Linked DNA regions of Homo sapiens: all the other regions are linked to region 3. The links are contacts of gene promoters, found by promoter capture Hi-C in human tissues and cell types (Jung and others, 2019). All regions are on one chromosome and are shown on one strand. The core of a region is centred on a gene start or on the middle of the fragment in contact, and the rest is flanking DNA. Distances in the headings are between cores, read along the strand shown. Region 1 has its middle 330 kb from the start of SS18. Region 2 overlaps LINC01894 (long intergenic non-protein coding RNA 1894). Region 3 holds the start of ZNF521 (zinc finger protein 521). Region 4 has its middle 140 kb from the start of LINC01894. Region 5 has its middle 300 kb from the start of SS18. Region 6 has its middle 250 kb from the start of SS18. Region 7 has its middle 65 kb from the start of LINC01894.

Region 1 (3,503 bases), core at 414-2,913, 400 kb after region 3:
AAAGCAACCAAGCATCAGACTTTTTCTACATTTTGGCTCTACTTTCCTCGGTGCTTGCTTCATTTTCAGGCAGTTTCTCCCAAGTGAGGTCAATTATGGCATTAGCATCTCCAGGCTTATGTTCTACCAGCTCAACAATCATAATGAAAAGAATGGCCCTCTTGCCCAAGAGTTCTGGTCAAACTCTTAGGTTGAGGCTTATTGCCCTGACTTGAGACATGTGCCCATCACTAATTCAATCACAGTGATTTAATGCTTTAAATCACTTCACTTGTCCAAGCTTGAGGTGGTGTGTCCTCTCATAGCCCAAAGTCTAAGAACAGGGAGAGAGTTTTCTCCAAAAGATTCTACACAGGCAAAATATAATGAACAAGTACACCAAAAATAATAGGCTAAGATAATCATTTAAAAGAAAAACAAGATTAAATAATAAAAGTACTGAGCTTGATTTAAAACAATCAATTTTATAAATTAAAGATGAGAATGGACCACATTTGTCAACAAACCATGTGAAAAATATTAGAAGTTGTGTTAGACAATAAGCTCATTATGAACCAACAATGTGTTACAGAAACTGGAAGAACTAATTTAATTTTAGGTTGCCTTAATAGAAAAATCATAACCCAATTATGGGATGTTATGGTCCCACTGTTTTCTTCATCGGTCAGATCATAGCTGAATGTTACATTCTAGAAGAATATTCACAAAGTCCAGTGCATCCAGAGGAGGCTGACAAGGATAAAGACCTAAAGCATCAGCTAGAGGAAGACCTGAGGAAGTTGGGGAGTTCCATCTTGGAAAAGAGATCACTAAATTATAGCAATGTTTAAATATTTGAAATGTAATCCTATGGCTATAAGACTGACTTCCTCTCTGCTACTTCAGTGGGAAGAGCTAGTACCTTTAGAGAAATGAAAGGGAAATGGATTTGGATTGGTTTAACAAGTAATACTGTCCAGCAAAATAATTGGCTCCCCTGAGATACAGCGAGCTTCTCGCAAATGTAATTATTAGGAATGCCATAGGATTATGTTGGTCACTAGTCAACTCCTGATCTATCTCTCCCAACTCTTAAAGCTATAGTCAAGGGATTACATGAGTATCTTCCCCATTATGGGCAAGTTAACAGGAAATTCAGCCCCTTTCTATATTTTCAGTAGTGAGTGAAAGACTCAGAGCTTTTGAATCTGCTGCACGAATATTACTAAAACCTCTCGCCACCCACGGACTGGAAGAAGTTCAGCACTATGTGGGAGAAAACTCCATGTGGAAAAACCTTGGAAGACAAGACACCAAGGAAATTGAGGGTTTGGGCAAATGTCTGTCTCACCTGGCACCCTCATGCATTGGTCCAAACTCAGTGTGTGTTCTAAGTTAATTAAAACATCACTACCTGATAATTATTTTTATATCTACTTCTTCAGGGAAATGGTTCAAAATTCTATTAAAGATGTTTTAATCATCCCTTGATTTCATTACCCATGTTATTTTATAACATAGATATTGTAAAAAAAAAAAAAAGTAATAAAGTAGCAAGTACATTGCAAAAATGTAGTAAAACATCTGAAAGTGTTTAATAAATGTCAAACAGTGTATACATGTAAGGAGTTATTGTAATTATTATTCATTCCATCATGGCATAGATAACTTAGAATTGGCTATATTAAAATTTTCTTTAGAAAAATATGAGAATTCACTAAATCCTCAGAAGACATAAAATAAGCAGGTAAAAGATATCAAATTTCTTTGAATTGAGAACTACAGTAGTTCCAGCCTAAGGAGATGTTACATTGATAGTGCATACTTAAATATCACTGAATTGCCATGAGGAGAAAATGAAATTTTGCGAAAAGTGCTTTCTGAGATGTTGTATAATTCCAAAGTCAAAATGTTATCATTATTCTGTTCTCATTATTAACTATGTTTTTATTATTATACTACAAGGAATTGGCTTCAGGAATATAGATATCTGGACTAAACCAACTCTACTTGATAATTAATACCAGAATTCTGGCACCCAGAGTGGGCAAAATCAGGTACAAGTTTTCTTACATGTGGATGGTTCAAATACATTAAATCAGTCCCTGGTAGATTTCATTTTTAATTACTATCAGAGGACATAATGTCAAACATAGGGACTTTGTGGTCACTCTGTATATCACAGATTGCTCTTATAATAGTCCTTATGTTAGCAAAATTGCATGGTAAAAGCACTAGATCAATAATAAAAGTATGTTGAAGACCTATATTAAGACTATATGCTTAAAAGAAATCATTGAAACCATTTTGATTCTCCATTACCATAATTCCCAAAGACCAATAAGTAGGATTCGTAAAGCCTAAATATTCTGTAAATGTATGAGAGCTGCTTTTTTAACAAGCTGAATCTCATCGTCTGGGATGGGGGATAATAAGAACTCATGAGACTGGAACTTCTCATTTCACAAATGAGAAAACAGGGGTTCGTGGCAAATAAATGCCTTATGTATCATCCATTTTGAAGTCCAATCTCAACAACAAGAGACTTCAACAAGAGACTGGCATCTGTAGTATTTCTTATGAGAATTTTACATATTCTTATGGTAAAATATGACCACATATTTAATAAAACCCAATATGTCCATAATCCTTTTCCTTCATGGTCATTATCCCTACCAAATAAATATTATTAAACATGTGTAAGGAGGCCAGGTTTAAATTGGATGTTGTACTTGAAGGTCTATGATTCATTTCTGGTAATAACCAAGATTATAATCAGAAAGGAATAAAAATATTGCCCAACATATCTAAATACACAAATATGTAGGAAACTAGAACTGCACTACTTTACATGCACAAGGTCTGTAAAGAAACATGTTCATACGTGTATAGCTGTGAAAAATGGGAAAGATTTGTTAAAAAAAAAAAAGATTAACAGGAAATATTGACCTTGTTTCCACTTGGGGTCAAAAAAATGCAAAGAGATTCTTTCATATATTTTATTTCCCTGAGGAAAGTATGTTAGTTTAAAAAAATCTTTGAGCAATGAAATCTCTCTAGTTTCCAGTGGTGCTTTCTTTTTCTAGTACTATTTTACCTCAGAATTACTTTTGCCTTGTTGAAAGCAAAAAGGCAAAATTTGGCAAACTTTAACCCAGTCAAAATGGATGTTAATTGCAGTGTTATAACACTAACTTGCGCATCCTTACTCAACCATAGGAAACTCATTATGTCCCCATTTAACGTTCTGAAAACATTTTTAGACCATTTGTAGGTTCAAATGGAAATAAATATGACTGTAAGTGTAGAATTGTCATTTTAATCAAATTGAATTTTCCAATTAGAGAAAGAAGTCTTACTAAGATTACCCATAATTCATATTCATAGAAGACTTCAGTTTGGGTTGTAGAACTCTGAAAGACCATTTCAAACAAGAAATTTGGATTCTTAGAGTGATGTATTTATCAGCATATGTTATTGGTGACTTTTTAAGCACTAAAATACTTTTTATAATAATGTATTAA
Region 2 (3,472 bases), core at 527-3,026, 400 kb before region 3:
TGTACTTGGATAGTTGGTTAATCACCAAGAAGAATGCTGGAAGAAAGCTACTCATATGCTTTTCATCTCAGCATCCAATTCCCAGGAAACCTGGAAAAAACCATTTTACTTGTCTAAGGCCACCTACAGTATTAGGTAATTATTAAAGCTGATTGCATATCAGAGCCTAAATACAGTGCTGCAGAACCGTGCTCCCCTCATGCTCCCCTCACGGCAAATGAATCAGAGACGCTGCCATGTATTTTTGAAGAGTAAATCTTTGTGCTAATTAATTATATTAATATCAACATGTTGATATTGATATAATTAGCACAGTGGATGACACTGATATAATTAGCACAAATATTTACTCTTCAAAAATAAGTGGCAGTGCATATGCATATAATAACGTTAATAATAATACTGAGCTGTTATAGCATCACTTTCTCTGAGGAGTTTACAAAATACATAAATAGTAAATAATTAAAACTCAAACTCCGTTGAGAGCTTTGATAGCATCATTGAGCAAAGTTGAAGGGGTTTATGCAGTCAGAGTAACCTCATAAATACATTCTGACAGGGGCATTTTTTGCCCGAACAGAAGTGACTCTCTAAGCAGCTATCAGTAGGCCTAAAACTAAGAGATATACCAAATTCTGTAACTGAATTGAAACTGAATAGGGCCCTGTCTCTTTCTTTACTCTGATTCATGTTCAACTAATCTAAAACCACAATTATTTTATTCTAACATGAAACAGAATTGGGTAAAAGCAAGGATGTTGGGATACAAGACAGAAAATATATTCAGGTGTCCTTGTCCGCAGCGTCTTTTACGTAGAAAGACCATGGTCTTGCTAAATCTATCCAGAGGCCATCTCTCTTTTGTTTGAAAATGTAGACTCCACACCTCATCACATAATTATATGTGGTACCATGAGAAGAGAGGTGGCATGGTGCCTAATGGTTCCATTGGCACTCTGCTGTCAGGAGCGATGAGAACCAACTTTCCCACTGTGTTTGTGATGGGAGATATTAATCTCAACCAATTTCTTATTTCTTTATTTCTGAGAACAGGCTAATTGAGTTTCACATTCTCTTACCATTACAAGTATATTTACTGCCACCAGCACAGCATATATGCACAGAAACACACACATACATATCTGCACATGCAAACAGATAAACATCACACACAAAACAAAACATAACTGTGAGTTCCAATGAACCCATTGATAAGCATGAAAGATACAGGCCAGGAGACTTTTAAAATATGTCGCATTTACAGAACATTGTGCTTACTGGCAAACATCGGAAAAGTAAAATTGGCTTCATGGACTGACAGAAAGAGACATTAGTTATTTTAACCCTCTTTTCCTCTAAGCACTAACTTCTATAATAGAGCATCCCAGATGTTTTGCTTCTTAGTGCCTCTTTGGATGTGAAGATTGCACAGCAGGAGGCAACATCTGGGGGAGAAAGGAGAGATTGTGTAAGAGACTTAGGATATTGGTGCGCACCCGGTTGTGATTCTTGGATATGTTTCAGAGAATTTTTTAAAAAGGCAGCCTCCATTGTAATTATCATTTATAATTAATTTCTGGGTGCAATAGCAGAAGAGTATTTCAATATTCCAGTTTTCTAGAGAAAAAGGATTTTTCTTGCATTTATGCAGATTTAGAATTTCAGCTGCAAATTGACCTCCTTACCACAAACCATATTGTTTTGCAACCTCTTAATACATAAAACTGTTTTGGTCCTTCAGTGAAAGATGTCATTTTTACCATAATGAGAAAAACTGGAAAGTCTCAGCATCTCATGAACGTCATTGCTCAGACAGTGCTTGGTTCAGGGAGGGTTTGAGGTTCAATCCTGATGCTTATGATTGTCTCATTTCACTCTGACATCATAATTGAGACTAATCTCCACTGATTTTTTTCCCTTACGTTCGTTCTTGCTTTCAAGTTTAATCATCCACTACAATTCGGACATAACAGCAGTGGAATGGGTGTTTTCTGAAAAACACACATTGGAATCATTTTGCATTGTAGCTTCAGTTCATGATGTTTTGCTAAGCAGGTATCCAAAGGCACACACTGAAATCATTTTGCCAGCATACTCTTGCCTTTTAATAGCTTCCTAACAGGGTATCTGAAGAAACACTCTTGAAACATTTTGCCCTCCTAATTTTATGTTGTAATGACATCAAAATGTCATAAAGCAATTACCGTCCCAAGCACAATGATCTTTAGAAGTTACTTTCTCTATAGGCTCATTAACTCCTTTCTAGCTTTAATATCTTGATTGTTTAAAAAAATGTTTAATACTAATTGAGAGGCTTCATTTAGAACTGAATACCATTTATTTAGCACCATCTCTCTCTTTCTCTCTCTGTCTGTCTGTCTCTCTCTCTCTCCCCTCTCTCAACCAAATTGGACTAAGCTGACAGAACCCTATATTTATAGATACACACACACCTTCTGACTGCTCCAGTTAAGATTCAAAGTGGAACTGATCTGGTACAAAGCAAAAATCAGCCTAGTGGATTGCTTTGGAGTCAAAGGAAACAGTAGATAGTGGCTGTGTCCTTGGCAGTGAGCACATCCCAAAGTTTCTGCACTGCCTGAAAAACGTGAGGCTGGGTACTCATTATGGGGTCTGGAAGAAATGTGAGATGCTTAACTGGAGAAGTTCTACGTGGCAACACGACCATCTGATTCCAACCACACTTAGTTCTAATGACTGAGATCCACCAGGTATATTTCTCCAAATAAAAATGCTAAATCAAGGGAACAAACAATGATGCACTGGATTCAGTTATTCTGTGATGTAGGCTGTGATTTGCAGCTATACCCTCCTGAAACATCTGTAGGAAGAGTTAAAGCTTAAGTTTTCCTCTGGGCCATTTGAAATAAGTAAAGAATAGCCACCAACCTCTATCACCTTTTCTAATATAAACATTAAAACAAATGTGCTTGTCTCACATGTGCCAGATAATATTCATAACTTAACCTTTAACTGTCTGAGCACATTCTTATCTGGATAATGGAAGGGTTGGAAATGAGCTCAACAAATTTGCACAACACAATGCCAAGGATGTAATGGCCTCTCTACTCCAATCAAGAGATAAGATGGTCTCTGACTTTTTCTATAGACTCTCTGTCCATGACTAAACAACATAGCTCTGTTCTTGCCAAATATTTTTTTTTCTGTTTTAAGCATCCTCAAAGGTGACCCATAGAGTTCTAGCAACCAGTTTGATCATAGAAAAGAGGCAGAATGATTGGTTCAGATGTCTGAAAGTAAAGCTAAAACTGGGAGGAGCTACTTGGTTAATAATAAATAACAAGAAAGATAGATGAATAAAAATAAACATCTTAATGATTTACCATTGCTATGAAACCAATAGGCTGGTAATCCAATCCGATATCTGCAAATTTGTATAATCCTCAGGGCAAAACAATTTAATGGGCTGTCTCTTTTATAGTTACAAAAG
Region 3 (3,312 bases), core at 133-2,632:
CGCCCCCGCACTCACACTCACACTCACGCGCGCACACGCCTCGCAGCCACGCAGCCCTCGCTCCGCTACCCACAGTGACACTCGCGGATGGGGGAAAGCGGGGAGCAGGGGGTTCCTCCTTACCTTTGAGGGATCTCGGTTTCGCTTGCTTGCGGCGAGACATCCTAAAAGCAAACAGCTGAAGTTGTTTCAATTCAGCCCTGAAAGAAACTATACTTCCTCGTGGCCGCGCGCCCCTCGGGCCGCGGCGCCTCGCGCCCTCCGCTCGGCCTCCCTCGCGCCCTCGCTCCGCGCTCCGCTCCTCGCTCCGGCTCCGGCTCGCGCTCGCGCGCGGGGCTCGCGGCTGCCCGAGCTCCGCGCTCTGCACGACGGCGGCGGCGGCGGCGGCGGCTGCTGCACCAAACTTTCCCAGCCTTCGACCCCCACCCCCAATCTCCAAGAAAAAAAAAAAAAAAGGAAAAAGAAAAAAGGAAAGGAGGGAAAAAAAGCTAAAAAAAAAACCCCAAAGACAATGTTTGAAGAGCCGTCAGCTACACTAAAAAGAGAAAATCCGTTACTATTTCCACCTCAATCAAAATTCACATAGTTCATGCGAATAGAAAAAAACTAATAAAAAGAAAAGCGTCTGGGTGATTTTTTTTTTCTTTACCGCTTTTCCTTTTCAACAAATCCGCCCCCCCCCCCACCGGAAAAAAACAAATAACACTGATTTGTTTACAAAGCGAGTCGTGCTCTTTTGTAGTTGGGGGGACGAGGGGGGGAAATCGACCCTGCAAGGCGATGAAAAGGTCTTGGAAAGAAAAATCTCCCACCATCCGAGGCAGATGCGAACGGGCCACGAAAATAAGCAAAGGGAAAAAAATACTTTTTTTCTCCCTTCCCCCCACCCTTTTTTTCTTAACCCACACTAAAGTAATTTCTTTCAAAAAGAAAAAGCCAAAGCACCCGAGCCGACGGCCCCCAGGTGGTGTGCGGGGCTGCTTGTGTGCAGGGGGTGTGCGGGGCCCGGGCTCGGGGCGCCCCTCTCTGGGCGGGGGCGCGGCGCCGGCGGCTGGCGCTGGACCGGGGCTCTAAAGTCTACGGCTGCCTCGGCAGCGGCGGCGGCAGCAGCGGCGGCAGCGGCGGCGGCAGCGGCGGCGAGAGCAGGAGGAGGAGGAGGAGGAGAGCCGGGAGCAGGAGGAGGAGAAGGAGTGTGCTGTGTGCTCCCTCCTCATCACAAACCTGCAAGGTCTTGGACTGCGCTGTCGCTCCGGTAGTCCACATAATAATGGAAAATGGAAGCAAGGCCCCCAAAGCCATCAGGATGGCTCCAGAGGGGGCCCCTAACCCGCAGGGACTCGCTCTGTACGTAATCACTGAGGAAATCATTGTCAGCCTGCCTGCACTCACACACAGACAGAGGGGCATGATTAAAAGGCGAGAGCGCGGGGAGCGGGAGGGAGGAGGGGGCCCGCCAAGACCCGGACTGGAGGCGCCGGCCGCGGCGCGCGGATCCGGAGCCAGGCGGCGGCCGAGCGCCCCGAGCCCCGCCCGCCGCCGCCGCCGCCGCCGCCGCCTCCCACGCGCCGCGCGCCCCGCCCGCTCCTGCGCCGCCGCCCCTCGCGCCGCCCGCCCGGCCGCTCGCACACCCCGCGCCGCCGCCGTCGCCGCCGCCGCAGCTGCGTTATTAGAGCTCCACGGCGGATCTCGGGGCTCTTCTGCTCGCTTTTTTTCCTCTTCAGAAATTAAAGCAGAGGAGCATCTGAAAGTGGAAAGGTCCCCCTTCTGGTAGGATGGATGTAAAAGGAGGCAACAATTTGTTCTTGAGGGGGCAAAAAAAAAAAAAAAAAAAAAGAAAAAGAAAAAGAAAAAGAAAGGAGGGGGGAAATTCATTGCTTGGCTTTTGCATTGTCGGACTTTAAAAAAGTGTGTCTGCTGTTGTTGCCCGGACTCGGGAAATCTTTTTTATGGCAACCGCAGACCTGCCAAGTCTCTCTTACTTGGAATCTTTATAAAGGCAAGTTATTTGGACTTTTTTTTTATTTTCTCGTTTAGAGAAAGTCATTGATGCTGACGAATGTCATAATGTGATTCAAAAGAGACAGCTTTGAGTTCACTTTTTTAACATTCTCAAATTGACATAGATCTTTGTCCAGAAAATAAAGCTTTCTGTTGATTTTTTCTTTAAGCAAGAGGTAAGGAAATATGCACTTAAGAATATGTGTACAAGAAAATAGTTTCTAAAATAAATTGAAATGTCTGCAGGTCGGTGGGAATTTTTGTTTCTTTTCGCAGTTTTGTTTTCTAACTTTTCACCTGCTCCCATCGCAAAACAAGAAACCATCACCTGTTTCCTTCTTTTACCTTATCTTAAGGGAAAGGATGTTTTAGTATTATTATTGTTGTTGCTATTTATTGATTGGACACGCTTGTCAAGTTATAAATGCCTGAGAGGGCTACCAAGTAGAGCTTAGATTCACAAGTCTTGGTGGAAATTAAGAGATTCAGAATACGGTTAATTACACAAAACAGGCAGAATTTTGTACAAATACTATTGTTCTTAATCAGATTTTAAAAATTCTCCGTTCTGTAAAATTAAGGTACAGCTATCTATTAAGCCACCATGCAAAGACATCAAAGCTTTAAGGAAGTTGTATTTTTTCCAGTCTAACCTGTAAACTGCCTGGACCCTCATGTGGATAGCTGCAAATACAGTATGTTTTTTTTCAATATCTTCATTATAATTAAATGAGTTTTCAATCCATCTGCAGTAATTCCTAAAGTGAAATCATAGTTGTAGTCAAATTTAACTTTGCATGACTGTGAAATAAAGCAACTTTTGTTGCAGAATCTGTGTTGGTACATTAAGGATTCTAGATTTTATACATAACCTTATACATTCATTTTCACAGAAATCATTCAGAAAGGGAAAAATGTGTAAACACCAAGTTTTTACAAGACTTTCCTTTCGTGTGGTAGCCATATGTGTGCAGAATACTATGGTGCCATGTATGTGTGGTCCCAAGTTATGTGTGATATTATCTAAAATATTGATGGCATCTAATCCTGGTTTTATTGGAAAGTGAAAAATTGCTAACGTAATACTAACGCGTACCCTAATTTGTTAAAGTTTTCTATATGGGTTGATTTTTTTTGTTTCTTTCTCAAAGTAGTCTACTTTGCTTTACTCTAAAATTGTTCTTTCATTTCCCAATGTTAGTATTTCTGTTGCCTTCCTCTATTAAGAGATAAATAAAACCCTTAGCTCAGAGATTTAGATCTGGCTCAAGAGCCTGATATTTCAGTTTGGGATAGTACTGCATAGCATTTTAA
Region 4 (3,123 bases), core at 69-2,568, 510 kb before region 3:
AGAATAACTTTCCACTTCCTGCGTATCCCATCTTGAGACATTCCTTCCGAAGCTTTAGCTGAAGATTTCGTAACCGCCCTCCAGAGCAGTGGTTCTTTATTCTTTCGTCTCTCTCACACCCCCACCTTCTTTCTTGACTTTGATCTTCTCCTCGCTCACCTTATATTCCTTTATGCATCTATCTCTGGCCTTCTTCCTCATTTCCCTGAGGCAGTTGTAGTAAAGTGACATGAGTGCTCTACTCGGGGTCAGGAGGCTTCGGCTTTGCTCTGCCTCTTTCTTGTGCCTGCACCAGGAAGTTGTTCAGCTTCTTGAAGCCTTATTTTCTTCTCCCACTAAATGAGATGATCCATGTAGGTATTCAATGATACTTTCATTAGCTGTGGAGTTGTTGGGAGATTAAATAGGACAGTATTTGTGAAGCCTTGCAGATACAAAGCTCAAAGTACACATTAGGCATTATTATGACTTTCTATCTTTATTTTTTCTTCCGTGTTGTTTTCTCAAAGATCATTCTTAAGGATACTGGAAAGATATACAAAGAAAGGACAGGACAGAAATTAGAATGTTCACCAGGGGAAATGCTTAGATTCTTAGCGACAAACTCAGCTCATTGGAGGGCTGAGCCTGAGTGAGGCTCCTTCAGAAACTGGATGAAGCGATGCACATCTATTTATGCAGCATTTCTTTATACATTTATGAGCTTCCGAGTATAAATGTATATGTATTATGAACTTGATTCACATATTAAACTATTTAATATGAGAATATTTAATAATCTTGTGAGATGAGGAAGAGATATGAGAAAGGGAGGGAAAAGAGAGAAAGAAAGTGAGTCAGGAGAAATGAAAGAGGGTCATGGATGGTTGGTGCCCAAGCAAAAGAGGGAAAGGGAGAGAGAAAAGAGATGGGAGGGAGAGCCCCGGGCTCGGGGAGCAGCAGTGGCAGGATTGTCAGCCAGCTACTGAGAGAGAAGATCCTGGAGCTGGTAAGAAGCTGACTGAATATGTGTTGGACATGGCATGTGGCCTTTTATGAAACAGGTTGGATATTTAGAAAGTGAAGCTTTCAAAGTCTGTCTTTCTGGCCTTTGAGGTTCCTTTAGTTTCTGTCATTAAGGAGTCTCCTCTTGAGACGTGGCATACATATTTTTCCCCAACAAGGCCCTGGTTGAAGTGAAAGTAGATTGCCTTGAGGGGAAAGCACACTAGTTCAGTTCTTGCACTGCTATAAAGAAATACCCAAGACTGGGTAATTTATAAAGAACAGAGGTTTAATTGGCTCACAGTTCTGCAGATTGTACAGGAGGCATAGTGGCTTCTGCTGCTGGGGAGGCCTCAGGAAACTTACAACCATGGCGAAAGGCCAAGCAGAAGCAGGCACGTTTTACGTGGTTGGAGCAGGAGAAAGCAGGGAAGGTGCTGCCACACACTTTTAAACAACCAGGTCTCACAAGAACTCACTATCACAACAGCACCAAGAGGGATGGTGTTAAACCATGAAGAACCACCCCCATGATCCAATCACTTCCCATCAGGCCCCACCTCCAACAGTGGGGATTATAATTAGACATGAGGTTTGGTGGGGACACAGATCCAAACCACATCATCCATGATTACTTATTACTGTTATTTTAGGATAGCTCCCTTTCAAACAGGGGAGCAACACAGCTGGTGTTTAGGAGCTCAGACCCTGGAGCGTAGACTTCCTGTGAGTTCAAGGCCAGGCTCCATCATCACAAGTTGCCAGACTTGGGTGATTTACTCCACTTCTCAGGGTCTCATTTCCACCATATGTAAAGTCTCAAGTTTATGCCTCTCTGGTTTCACTTTTTTTTTTTTTTTTTTTTTGAGACAAAGTCTCACTCTGTCACCCAGGCTGGAGTGCAGTGGCACAATCTTGGCTCACTATAACCTCCGCCTCCCAGGTTCAAGTGATTCTCCTGCCTCAGCCTCCCAGCTGGGACTACAGGCACGCGCCACCATGCCTGGCTAATTTTTGTATTTTTTTTAGTAGAGATGGGGTTTCACCATATTGCCCAGGCTGGTCTCGAACTCCTGACCTTGTGATCTGCCCACTTCGGCCTCCCAAAGTGCTCAGATTACAGGCGTGAGCCACCACACCCAGCCTCATTTTTTTTTTTTTTTTTGAGACAGAGTCTCACTCTATCTCCCAGGCTGGAATGCAGTGGTATGAGCTCGACTCACTGCAAACTCTGCCTCTGGGATTCAAGTGATTCTTCTGCCTCAGCCTCCTGAGTAGCTGGGATTACAGAGGCAGACGACCATGCCCAGCTAATTTTTGTATTTTTAGTAGAGACAGGGTTTCACCATGTTGGCCAGGCTGGTCTTGAACTCCTGTCCTCAAGTGATCCACACCCCTCGGCTTCCCAAAGTGCTGGGATTACAGGCATGAGCCACCCTGCCCGGCCCTCTCTGGTTTCATTTTCGTAGTTGCCTGCCTCATTCTGCCAGTGCTTACAGGGCAGGAGATGACCATCCATTCTGGCTTCCCCATCAATGGTAAGAATGATGGCTTCAATGCTGTCTCATTTACCACTGTTGAAACCTCAAGGAGAAACACTTTTGACTTAAGGATTGAGAAAACCCAAAATGTCTTTAGCTATTAGGATGTTATTGATGACTCATTTGTAATATCTCTGGAGTCTGATTGAAAAGGATTTATTAAGCTATGTTGCATAATATAGTAGGATTCTACATTTAATAAGTATGTGCTCTCTGTGTGTGTGTGTATATATATATATATATACATATATATATATATTTCTATCTATTCACCTATCATCAATCTATTCATCCATCTCTTGTAATCTATTGTAATCTCATACTTATTTGTACGTTGTTGAATTAATGTCTATTTCACTTACCAGATGGGATACTTCAAGACTACAGGAGCCACATCTGTTTCATTCACTCTAAGTCAGCTCTGTTTGCAACAAGGCCAGGTGTAGTAGGTGCTCATAACACTGTGCTGAATGAATGAGTGATCCATGTAACCCTCTTACCCAGTCCCAGTCATTCTTCATTCCTTCATTCCTTGCTTACTCTTTCTTGTACTGCAATGGCTTTTTAATTTTTGATTTTTTAATTGAGATATGATTCA
Region 5 (3,357 bases), core at 697-3,196, 440 kb after region 3:
TAAAACATGCTGCTATAAAGACACATGCACACATATGTTTATTGTGGCACTATTCACAATAGCAAAGACTTGGAACCAACCCAAATGTCCAACAATGATAGACTGGATTAAGAAAATGTGGCACATATACACCATGGAATACTATGCAGCCATAAAAAAGGATGAGTTCATGTCCTTTGTAGGGACATGGATGAAGCTGGAAACCATCATTCTCAGCAAACTATCGCAAGGACGAAAAACCAAACACCACATGTTCTCACTCATAGGTGGGAATTGCACAATGACAACACATGGACACAGGAAGGGGAACATCACACACCGGGGCCTGTTGTGGGGTGGGGGGAGGGGGGAGGGATAGCATTAGGAGATATACCTAATGTTAAATGATGAGTTAATGGGTGCAGCACACCAACATGGCACATGTATACATATGTAACAAACCTGCATGTTGTGCACATGTACCCTAAAACTTAAAGTATAATAAAAAAAGAAATAAAAAAAGATCCAAAGCAAATAAGGCAAAATGTTAACATTCGTTAAAGTTCCATTGTATGTAAGTAGGTGTTTGTTACATTACTTATTCTCGATGATTTTTTTTCTGTATGTTTGCAGTATTTCATAATAAAAAATAAAAAACAAGGTAGGAGGCAGGAATATAGCGAAAGGAAGGACTAAAAGAAGAGAGGATGGGGGAGCAAATCAGGTTAGACTTATCTAGAAACTGGGGGAAGGAAAACCAATACGAGAAGGTAAAACAAAAAGGACGTGCCAGACAACGAAGGTGAGCAGAAAATGGACAAAAGAAAGCCACCGCTGGCTAATGTCTGAGGGAATGAAGTCATGCCAATATCATTTCACCCTCTCTTCCACTGCTGATTCCACTAACTCAATGGCTCCCCAGGAGACAGGGCTGGTGGCAAGAGAATCCAGGGTTGCATTGATCCCACGAACATCACTTCTGCTCTCATTGCTCCCAGCAGCTGGATCTCTATTAGTGCGGAGCGCAGGGGGGCTGGGGAGAGGAAGCTTTATTTACCTGTCTCCACTTAGGCACAGTCTTGTCTGTGATTCCTGAAATCTAATGATGAGAAAGATATGTTAGCACTCCTAAGACTGCTTTTCCCTGCCATGGTAAATCGCTCCCTGAGCAACGTCAACTTTAGGAAACTATTGACCACTTAATTCTAGCAAGCAAAGCCATTTCTGCTTTCAGGAGAAATTGATGTGTATTTTGTTCATACAATATAAAGTGGAACTTACCATCTTTAGTCCCAAACATTCCCCATCTCTGTCTGTCCCTCTCCCCACTCAGGCACGGAAAGTGTGACGCCATCTTGGCCTCTCCTTCCTTACCCTCCACGATCAATAGTTATCACGTCCTCTCACCTGGGTCCCTACCAACTGCCTGCACAGTTGGTCTCCCTGCCTAAGGCTGCCCCCTTTAAAGAGAGTCCCCATTCCACCATCTGATAAAGGTTGTTATAGCCCAGCTCTGATTTTCTTACTCTTTGCTCAGGAAACACAAATGCTGCACCATTGTGTGAATGCGGAGCTCAAACTCTCCACTCCAGGATTGAAAGGAAGCCTGCTACGATCTGGTCCCTCATCTCCTGCAGCTGTTCTGCTCAGCTCATGCAATCATTAGGCACCCACACTGTCCCCACCAAATGGTCATCCTAAAACATTCCCTGCCATTTTCTACCCCTGAACATTTCCTTAAAATGTTCCCTCTGCTTTCTCTTTCCCCATCTCCACCTAGGGAAATCCAATCTAGCCTTCAGGAACCAGTTCGAATGCTGTCTACCCCAAGGCAGCTTCTCTAAAGCAAGCTCTACCCATCTCAGAACTGACATGTGCACCTCACTACTCTGTTAAAGATGCAGAGTATTGTTTCCAATTCATTCCTACCTTCCAGTCATATCTAGCACTGTCCCTTACACATAACAGGTGCTCAACAATACTCCAATGAATGCAAGTAAACATGCATTTATATATGTAATACCTATAACAACATGCATTTTTATAACAGATTTGATATAAACCTAACTTTAGCCCAAATGTTTGTTACCTAGTAGTTCCTCAATATGTAATTGTGAGAATTAGTGGATGACTGAGTAAACGAAGGGATGGATTTTCCTATACGCGCTTTGTAATTGAATGAGACCTCACAGGTCCACTGTACATCATTGTTGGTTGCTCTATGTTCTTTCCTGAAGATCCTTAGGAACACACTTCTAGGTTCTGAATGTAACAGATAAACATTAATTCAATTTAATATGGTTCTAAAGGGAAAATACAAATACAAGAACCTGTCTACATTATATAAATGCATTGCACTTTACATTGCAACGGACAATGTTAATCACATAATTTGATGTCCTTCTTCTTTTCATTGTTTACCGAACCCTCTTGTTTGAGTGATTCCTCTGCCTTTATTGAGAATACGCTATTGAGAGCAGCCCCTGATGAATACTAGCCCATTTAATTATTTTTTTAAAATAGCACTCAATCACCCTTCTTAGCACTAATAGCACCTTTCTCTACAAATGACTGCCACAGGTTATTAGGTCACATTTTCTTGAAATATTCTATCTTTCATTTATAACTTTTAAATTAACCCAAATATTTCTAACAGTGAGTATCTTGAACAGCAAAAGAAAAAAATGTATTGTTATGTTACTCAATTCATTGTTGAAAGGAATTGGGAAAGCTTGTGGGAGTGGAAATTGATCATGAAACTAACACATCCTCTGTGCCCTTCACAAACACCTCCTCCCAAAGGAGCCGTCACTATGCTGAGACTACCAGGGCCACCAGCACCCTCTTGCTTCTGCACATCTAACTGAGAAACGACCCTGCACAAATGGAACTCAATTTTTTACGTCAATCAACTGATATTACTTCCAATGTAATATTTTCACTCACACAGCATTAAATATATATATGCACTAAACCTTCAGTCAGCTTGAAAAGAAGCTAACAAAATTTCGCCATTTCAATAAGAGTGACTCAATTTAGGGGGCTTTGTTGTGTCTAGAGGCAAGATTTTTCTCTTGGGTTATTTCAATACCATGAGTGTCAATCAAAGAGCCACACTCTAAAGACCAAGAGAATATCAGATGAGATCCATCACCAGGCTGAATTTTGGCCTGTATTTGTAAATTATTTCCTCAGCTAGGTCATCAATCACAAAGTCATCTGCATGGAGAGGGTACTTCATTATTGTTCTATGGGGCTCCAATTAAGTGGGACATGACAAACAGTTATCACGTTGACAGCTCATCCAAGTATCAGCAATTACCACAACCCATGGCCATGAGAGGAGTGTGGGCCTCTCTGTTTCCCACTTAGGTGAAG
Region 6 (3,324 bases), core at 90-2,589, 490 kb after region 3:
AGGGTCAGCTTTCCCTGCCATCAACCCCATGCCCACCTCCCATGCGTACTCCCCAGGAGTCCCATCACTCTCACCAGTTACCTTCCTAGTTGCCCAGGCACAGACTGGACAATGGCCATCTCAACAATGGCTTAGGGAGACATGTGACCAATATCCACAAGGTCTCTCCAGGCCTTGAAATTGTGTCAACCCTCTAGAACCATCTAATGGCCCTAGAGAGGGGGAAACTCTGAAATAATTGAGATTAAATTCACTACCAGCACAAAGTGATAGAGGTTCTAATAGAATTGTATTTTAGAAAATAAAATAATTTTACATGCCTCTCTGAGTTTGGAGCTGCAGTCCATATCCCCACCATTTTGCCAGCATCCATCCTCCTGGGATGGGCCTGCTGCAGTCCCTGCTGGCTGGCATGATGCTGCCAATGGACAGAGCTCTCTGATGGTAAGTGACTCCCCACCTGACTCCAGTGGCTGAACAGCCGGCTTCAGCACCTCCTCCCTATGGTACAAACTGTACCAAAACACTTTCTCTGCCATTCCTTCCATCTTGGTAGGGACAACCCAACCCTCTTGCCACTTGATTTTCTCCTAAAAACCTAGTACACTCTTTCTTAACCAATGGGTCGTCTCCCCAGGAAAAAGCACACACCCATATACACAGGGAAACGTATTTTGGCCACAGGGATTCACTGACACATCAGAGGCCAGTGTATGAACTCCAGATTAAAAATCCCTGCCTTTGATACATACAGCTCAACACACACTCAGTTCATCTTGCTACCCAGAAAACAAGAAGCGACATGGACACCCACCCCAGGTCCAAGCCACTGATGGCAATTGTAGATGCTGCAAGGCAGCCATCTGGATTGACTGCCTCAAAGAATGACCCCTTCTGGGCATAATTCCAGAACACTCATGTGTAAAATTTATGGCTTTACTTAGAAACTAAATAATGCATGTCATTTTTAAAAGATACATCTTAATTATGCAATAATCCATTTAAAGTAGGTTTTAGTGGAAGGACTGGGGAGAGATTAGTCTACAATCCCAACTGGGAATAAATACCAGTAATAAATACCCCAACAATGGGAGCAGAGACCTTCCTGGCCCATCCTGTCACCTCCCAAGCCTTAGGGCAAAGCTGGGGAGAGAATACTCCAACATCAACCCACTGATTATGTCTTCTGTGGCCTGGACCAGAGATTCTAGAAAAACAGATGTGGAAATGAACAGTTAAGATATAGAAAATGGTTCCAATTTTAGCAGATACCATGAATAGCTAGCTGTACTTTCCTTACTCTTCCTTTTTCCTCATGAGGGTTCTGTGGCTAGAAACAAGGTATTGATGGGACTGAGATCGTAAGATTTTGCCTCCTTTCCTCTTTTGCTAGTAGTCCTATCCATGAGGGCCAAAGCTAAGACTAGGATGAGAATATATCATAAGTATTTTCACTTCTTTTTAAAATACATACACTCATGAAATCAATGTTTGGAAAGATTTTGTCTCCTAGAATAAATCACCCTTATTTTTTAAAGATCTCTAAGAAAGTTGACTCCCCAAGTTTTTAGCCAATATTTTATACCTGACAATCACACATTCAACCGTTATTAATATTTATTGTGTATATACTAGATGTCAAGTCCTATTCCAGATAGTACAGATATAACAAGGGCCTGCAGAGATCCTATGCAGTGAGCTGGCTAACGTTGACCAAGTGTAACATCTACAAGGAAAGAGAAGCGTGGTGTCCCCATAGGGGACCCAACCTAGGTAAGAAGTTCCTCCTCATGTCTAACTGAAATATGTCTTGTGTTATTCAAGTTCATTTTTTCTTCACACAAATAGAGATGAGAAAATCATTTCTTTTGTTAAAACCCTTATAAAATGGTTACATTCATGAAATCTTCTCTTTTTCTTCTCTTCTGTTGATTAAACAGCTCCACTTCTTTTAACATTTCCTCACAGGACATATTTCCTTGCCTTTAATAATAAGTTTCCTCTTATTGGGGCAGACCTTTACCATTTATAAGGCACTTTGTGGTTTACAGAGCACTTCCGCATCATTATCACACTTTGATCTTCACAACAACACTGCAAGGAAGGTGCTGCAGATATTTGCTGAGCGCCAAGTATGCCCAAACCACTATTCTAGGGCTGTGGGGGTGCCCGTGCCACTTTACACTTGTCCCCATTGAAATTTATCCCAGCTTTGTGGAGCCATTTTCTCAATGAGTCAAGGCCATTTTGAATTTTATTTCTGTCTTGCTGAGCAGCAACAACTTCACCTAATTTAGTGCCTGCTGCAAATTTCATGAGGATAATCTTAATTCCTTCATCCAGCCCATCAAAATAGCTATTGAGTAGGATAGATCCTAGCCCCAATACCTCTGAGATAGCACTCAATATGTCCCCCTAGATTGATAACTCCCCTTGGGGTGAAGCCTTCTATCCTCTAGCAGAAGTGTAGACAGAAATATACTTTAATAACATATCAAAGACAGTGCCTTAGTTAAGAAATCAAAATCTTTACTAAAATTGAGATAGATCCCATCAATCAATTCCACTGGTCTACATAGCCTCTCACAATCATGGGAGGAAATTAAATTGGTCTGGCACTATTTGCTCTTTACAGAGCTTTACTGATTGCTACTTAGTATTTTATGTCCTTTCAGGTGCTATTCAATTGATTATTTGGTGATTTATTTCAAGATCTTCCCAGGTATCGATGTTAAGCTCACAGTTCTGAAATTTTCAGGGTCATCCTGTCTTTCTCTCTCAAAGATGGGCACCTCGTTTACCCTTTTGCTATCCTTAGGGGATTTTCCAATCCTCTGTGATTTGGGGGAAACACTATCTAACAGTCCTAAGATGAAAGTTGAAAATTCATTCAGTATCCTACAGGGCAAGCCATCAGGTCCTGCTGACTTGAACATATTAGGTTTTTCTAAGTTTTCTAACTATGCAGTCCTTTTGACCTTCTGTCCTCCTATTACAATTGGGACTTATTCCAGGCAGCAATTTATAGTTGTTATTATCTTCCCCCCTGGGGGAGGGGAGTGAGGATGACATTGTAAAAAAATAAAATAAATAAAATAAAAAGCTCTACTTTTTACTCTCTCTTCTGCTTTAGCATCTCGGGCAGAGACCATGTCATGCATCCAGATCCCGTTTCCTTTTCCTCTTCTTGGCCATCCCGGAAGACTGCATTTCCCAGCCTCCTTTGCATTAAATTGGGCTCATGTGATTGGGTTTGGGGCCAATCTAATGATGGAAAGAATGATGCACACCACTTTCTGGCCTGAACACAAACTCTCTGCATGA
Region 7 (3,637 bases), core at 637-3,136, 430 kb before region 3:
ATGTTTCTCCACATCTCTTTCCATTTAAAGTTATAGCAAGATGCTCTAAAAGAGTGGCTACATTGGCAAAAAGAAGCATCTGACTTCCTAAAAATGTGCAAAACATGTCAAAGTTAGAAACTTGCTACCTGACCTAGTCCGTCTCGCTGCGAGGAATCAAAGCTTCTATTTTCTGTGGTTCTCAAAAGCCTTTATCATATCCATATTTGCCTTAGTTTTCTGCCTTAGTTCATCTCTCTTTTTCACACCTTGACTTCTACAATATGTTATGCACCATCTGTATTCTTTCACCTAATTCTTTGTGATTCCTTTCAACTCAGTTTTTATTTACTTCGTGAGGGCAGAAACAGTTACATTTATTTCTCCCTATTCCCTGAACCAGATGCACAGTCTCTAGCATAGGGAAGGTGTTTCTGAAAGTGTTTATTGAATTGAATTGCTGAATGTGGCCCTCTAATCATCACTTCTCATTTCGTGTGTGTGTGTGTGTGTCCTCTGGGATTCCTTAATAAAATGGGTCTTAAAAATTACCCTTTCCTAACTCACTGCGAACTCCGACATGCCTTTCTTGCAAGTGGTCAACTTCTTCAGCTCTGCTGGGGCCTCAAAATGTCCTCAGTTCCTGTGTGTGGGTCTCTTGTACTTTTCTTTCCGCCATAATTTTTCACTGAGAAATTGCCTCTTGTCTTTGCTCACAAGTGACCTGAGTGGCTTCTGGGCCAACCTTGTTTTCTCCTGTGCCTACCATGAGTATGAACTGTTGAGAGACTAAAATCCCAATCTGCTATGGCCACGGAGGGTTTTAACAGTGATTCACAGGAAATGCCATGGACTCTAAGCTTCTGCTCAATGAGGGATGCATCTTGAGCCTTGGTCCTTGCTAGAAGTTATTCTTCCCACAGAAGGAGCAATGGAGACCCATCTTCTCTACAGCATAGGCGGGCTACCAGACCATCCACAAAGTAGAGGGAAACGACTCTTTACTAATAATTAACTGGCTGCAGATATTTTAAAGTGAGAAGGACAAATGCTCTTTAGCAATAAATTAGCATAGTCCCTGTTCTTTTTTTAAATAAAAAAATCACATATACTCTCTAATTATTTTCTCCAAATAATAAGTGCCTTAATCAGCTGGAATCCAGCCAGAGAAACAGAGCTCATATCAGCTCGATGGGGGGAATTTTATATGGGGTACTGGTTATAAAGGTGTTGGAACAGTTAACAAAAACAAAAACAAACAAACACATAAAAAATGGCAGGAAGGCAAATCAGAGATTTACAACAACAGGAAACCTCTAGGACTCGAAGGTCTGAGTTGAGGCCGTGGTGTTTTCAGAACCCAGATGCTGTCTGATGGCAAGTGAGGTCACAGAGGGCAGGCCTGCACCAAGGATCTGGGACTGCAAGGGAGATAGAAATGCCACCTGAAGCAGAAAGAGAGGGAAGAAATACCTTGGATTTTCTTCCTCCCTCTCTAAATTACCAGGCTCAGAACCCAGAGCTTTGCAATGATTGCAATACAAACTTCCGTGGGCTAAAAACCACATGAAATGCATTTCAAGATGCTTAGAAGCACCTGGACAATTTGAGAAGAAAATAAATCCCAACCAAATCAGAACAAACCCTCTAGTATTATCCACAACCATCCATGAGGGTTTTTTTGTTTTGTTTCAATTTGTTTTTTAACCACTCTTTTAATGAGGAATAAATAGAACTTGATAACAGAACCCCAGTATAGATTCATGTATGATTTCTTGCAATAATTCTATTTCATGATTTGCCCCATATAGTTCTCATTTCATAAGCACAGTCATTTCAGTTAATTTTTTTATTGTCTTCATAAAGTCCAACATCCACAGATTCTTCCAGGTATTGTCACAGATAGATATTTGAGTACAAGGTTGTTCCTTGTTGACCAGTACAGAAATAATATTGGTGCCCAACTTAGGCAAATAGGTTGTGACCTTTCTGGCATTTATTTTTGACTAGAAAAGCCACACGTTACACAGCCATGAGCACATTTCTCAGTTCCTCTTATCTTTTAGTGCAGGTCACCTGTCTGACATTTCATTCCATTAAACAAAACAAATGGAGATTTTTTTTTTAATCTCTTGAAAAATCTTATCCAAACCTTCATCAAACTATGAGACATTAGAAAGTTCTTATTCTCCTAGAGAGTACCTTAGGTCTTCCTCCAGTTCCCCTTTCCTTCTCTTACTCTTTTCTCCTTTTCCTTGAACATACTTCTCTCTTCATAACCAAGTTCCTATCTCGGGCTCCAATTATCTTCTATATCTTGACTCTTACTGTTTTCCCTCCAGAAACTTCCTTTTCTTTTCACTAATTAATTAGAAGGGAGTGTCCCCCCTTATCACCCATACCAATCCTACTGATCAGGAATCCTCCCTCTTCCCATCCCTGGGATCTCTACCCTACAAAGTTCTTGAAACTTACTCTTTTTACAGCACAGAGGGAAAAATATCTTGTCATTTGCACTGTCAGAGAAAAAGCTCTTTTTAAGTTTTTTGAGAAATATTGACAAATCAACTTGTTCATCATGTTCAATATTTGGAATAAGCAACCTCCATGGCTTTGTTTCAATCCTCATTTCATTTCATGAAATGGAACCTGTTCTCTTTGCAGACTCCCATAGTAAGTATCTTCCCCAAAGTACAAATCACAACAGCAAATCCAGGTTAAAGCAAGCTCTGTGGCAATGTGGAGCCTCAGACCAGACCCCAGACTCCTCCAAACCCCAAAACTGGTAGCCAAGGAAGAGGAATGCCCATGATTTCAGGGGCAGGGACCCTCTGCGGAGATTTCTCAGTCTCCTGTCTTAATGAGTTTAACTCCAGAGATGGGCAGCTCCAGGCTCCCCGCTGAGCGTAATTACCGTGATGGGGCACCTGGGGAGAGATTGTCACAAAGATAACTGGGTCTCAGGCTATTTAGCGCTTTACAGATGAGAGTAAGGTGGTGACTTGGAAAAATGGGGTCTGGTTCGGATAGGAAGACTGCTATGGTTCATTTTCCTCCCTCCTGTGGAAGCATACACTGTTGTGTTTTTAATTGATGTACGTGAGCCCAGGGCACAAAATGGACTCACGTGAGAAATCACAGGATACCAAGACTGGATGGGACTGGAGGGGTCATCTCGTCTACCCTCAGCCTCAAGGCAGGACTGCTTACAAGCTATCTTGGAAGGAGGGCCGACTGCCCTTTTCATCACTCCCTCCGGAGGACTGAACACAGCAGATAACCAAGGGCTACCTGGGCACCAGTGCACACTGCAAAGGACTATTTGTCTGGGTTTATTCTGGCTCTCCTTGCTTAAAAGCCATAGTCAGGGTCAGGATCAGGTCCCCAACACGGGCAGCTTAGAGCAGCACACCGAAATGTCAAAAATTCACCGGACAGCATGAATATACTGAAGAATACACAAAGAAAATATATTGAATCATCTTGTGCAAATTCACACCTCACCGAGGTGCTGAATGAGGAGAATGATCTCTTAACCACTGTCAAACTCTTCCTGTGAGTGCAGCAGGATGGGATAGGATTTCTGCTTTCCCCTAAGAAAAAGTTCATGGAGGACCTAAAACAGGGATTGGTGGAAGGGGGATTGGACAGCTGGTCC

What was found. The method cuts DNA at HindIII sites, captures the fragments that hold promoters and counts their contacts. A contact is called where the count stands out against the background at its distance.
Region 1: a fragment that was not itself captured here is called in contact with the fragment with the promoter of ZNF521 in region 3 in 1 of the 25 tissues and cell types used here (mesendoderm cells).
Region 2: a fragment that was not itself captured here is called in contact with the fragment with the promoter of ZNF521 in region 3 in 2 of the 25 tissues and cell types used here (H1 embryonic stem cells and mesendoderm cells).
Region 4: a contact is called between a fragment that was not itself captured here and the fragment with the promoter of ZNF521 in region 3, in 1 of the 25 tissues and cell types used here (heart left ventricle).
Region 5: a contact is called between a fragment that was not itself captured here and the fragment with the promoter of ZNF521 in region 3, in 1 of the 25 tissues and cell types used here (lymphoblastoid cells).
Region 6: a fragment that was not itself captured here is called in contact with the fragment with the promoter of ZNF521 in region 3 in 1 of the 25 tissues and cell types used here (IMR-90 fibroblasts).
Region 7: a contact is called between a fragment that was not itself captured here and the fragment with the promoter of ZNF521 in region 3, in 2 of the 25 tissues and cell types used here (dorsolateral prefrontal cortex and small bowel).

What each region holds. Positions count from the first base shown.
Region 1 is chr18:25,755,393-25,758,895 of GRCh38, forward strand. No RefSeq gene overlaps it. Among named protein-coding and RNA genes, the nearest start is that of SS18, 330 kb to the right of the region's middle. The HindIII fragment of the contact is 5,504 bases long and covers 1-3,503 here.
Region 2 is chr18:24,946,285-24,949,756 of GRCh38, forward strand. The region is part of intron 1 of LINC01894 (long intergenic non-protein coding RNA 1894); the gene reads right to left. Among named protein-coding and RNA genes, the nearest start is that of LINC01894, 40 kb to the right of the region's middle. The HindIII fragment of the contact is 6,134 bases long and covers 1-3,472 here.
Region 3 is chr18:25,350,784-25,354,095 of GRCh38, forward strand. It overlaps ZNF521 (zinc finger protein 521), which reads right to left and starts at 1,383. Exons shown (of 8, transcript NM_015461.3): 1 at 1,222-1,383; 2 at 124-164. The coding sequence starts at 163. RefSeq lists a silencer at 1,409-1,478. The HindIII fragment of the contact is 6,455 bases long and covers 1-2,381 here.
Region 4 is chr18:24,841,697-24,844,819 of GRCh38, forward strand. No RefSeq gene overlaps it. Among named protein-coding and RNA genes, the nearest start is that of LINC01894, 140 kb to the right of the region's middle. The HindIII fragment of the contact is 3,586 bases long and covers 1-3,111 here.
Region 5 is chr18:25,791,256-25,794,612 of GRCh38, forward strand. No RefSeq gene overlaps it. Among named protein-coding and RNA genes, the nearest start is that of SS18, 300 kb to the right of the region's middle. The HindIII fragment of the contact is 4,204 bases long and covers 1-3,357 here.
Region 6 is chr18:25,841,898-25,845,221 of GRCh38, forward strand. No RefSeq gene overlaps it. Among named protein-coding and RNA genes, the nearest start is that of SS18, 250 kb to the right of the region's middle. The HindIII fragment of the contact is 5,651 bases long and covers 1-3,324 here.
Region 7 is chr18:24,921,345-24,924,981 of GRCh38, forward strand. No RefSeq gene overlaps it. Among named protein-coding and RNA genes, the nearest start is that of LINC01894, 65 kb to the right of the region's middle. RefSeq lists an enhancer at 2,556-3,241. The HindIII fragment of the contact is 5,508 bases long and covers 1-3,637 here.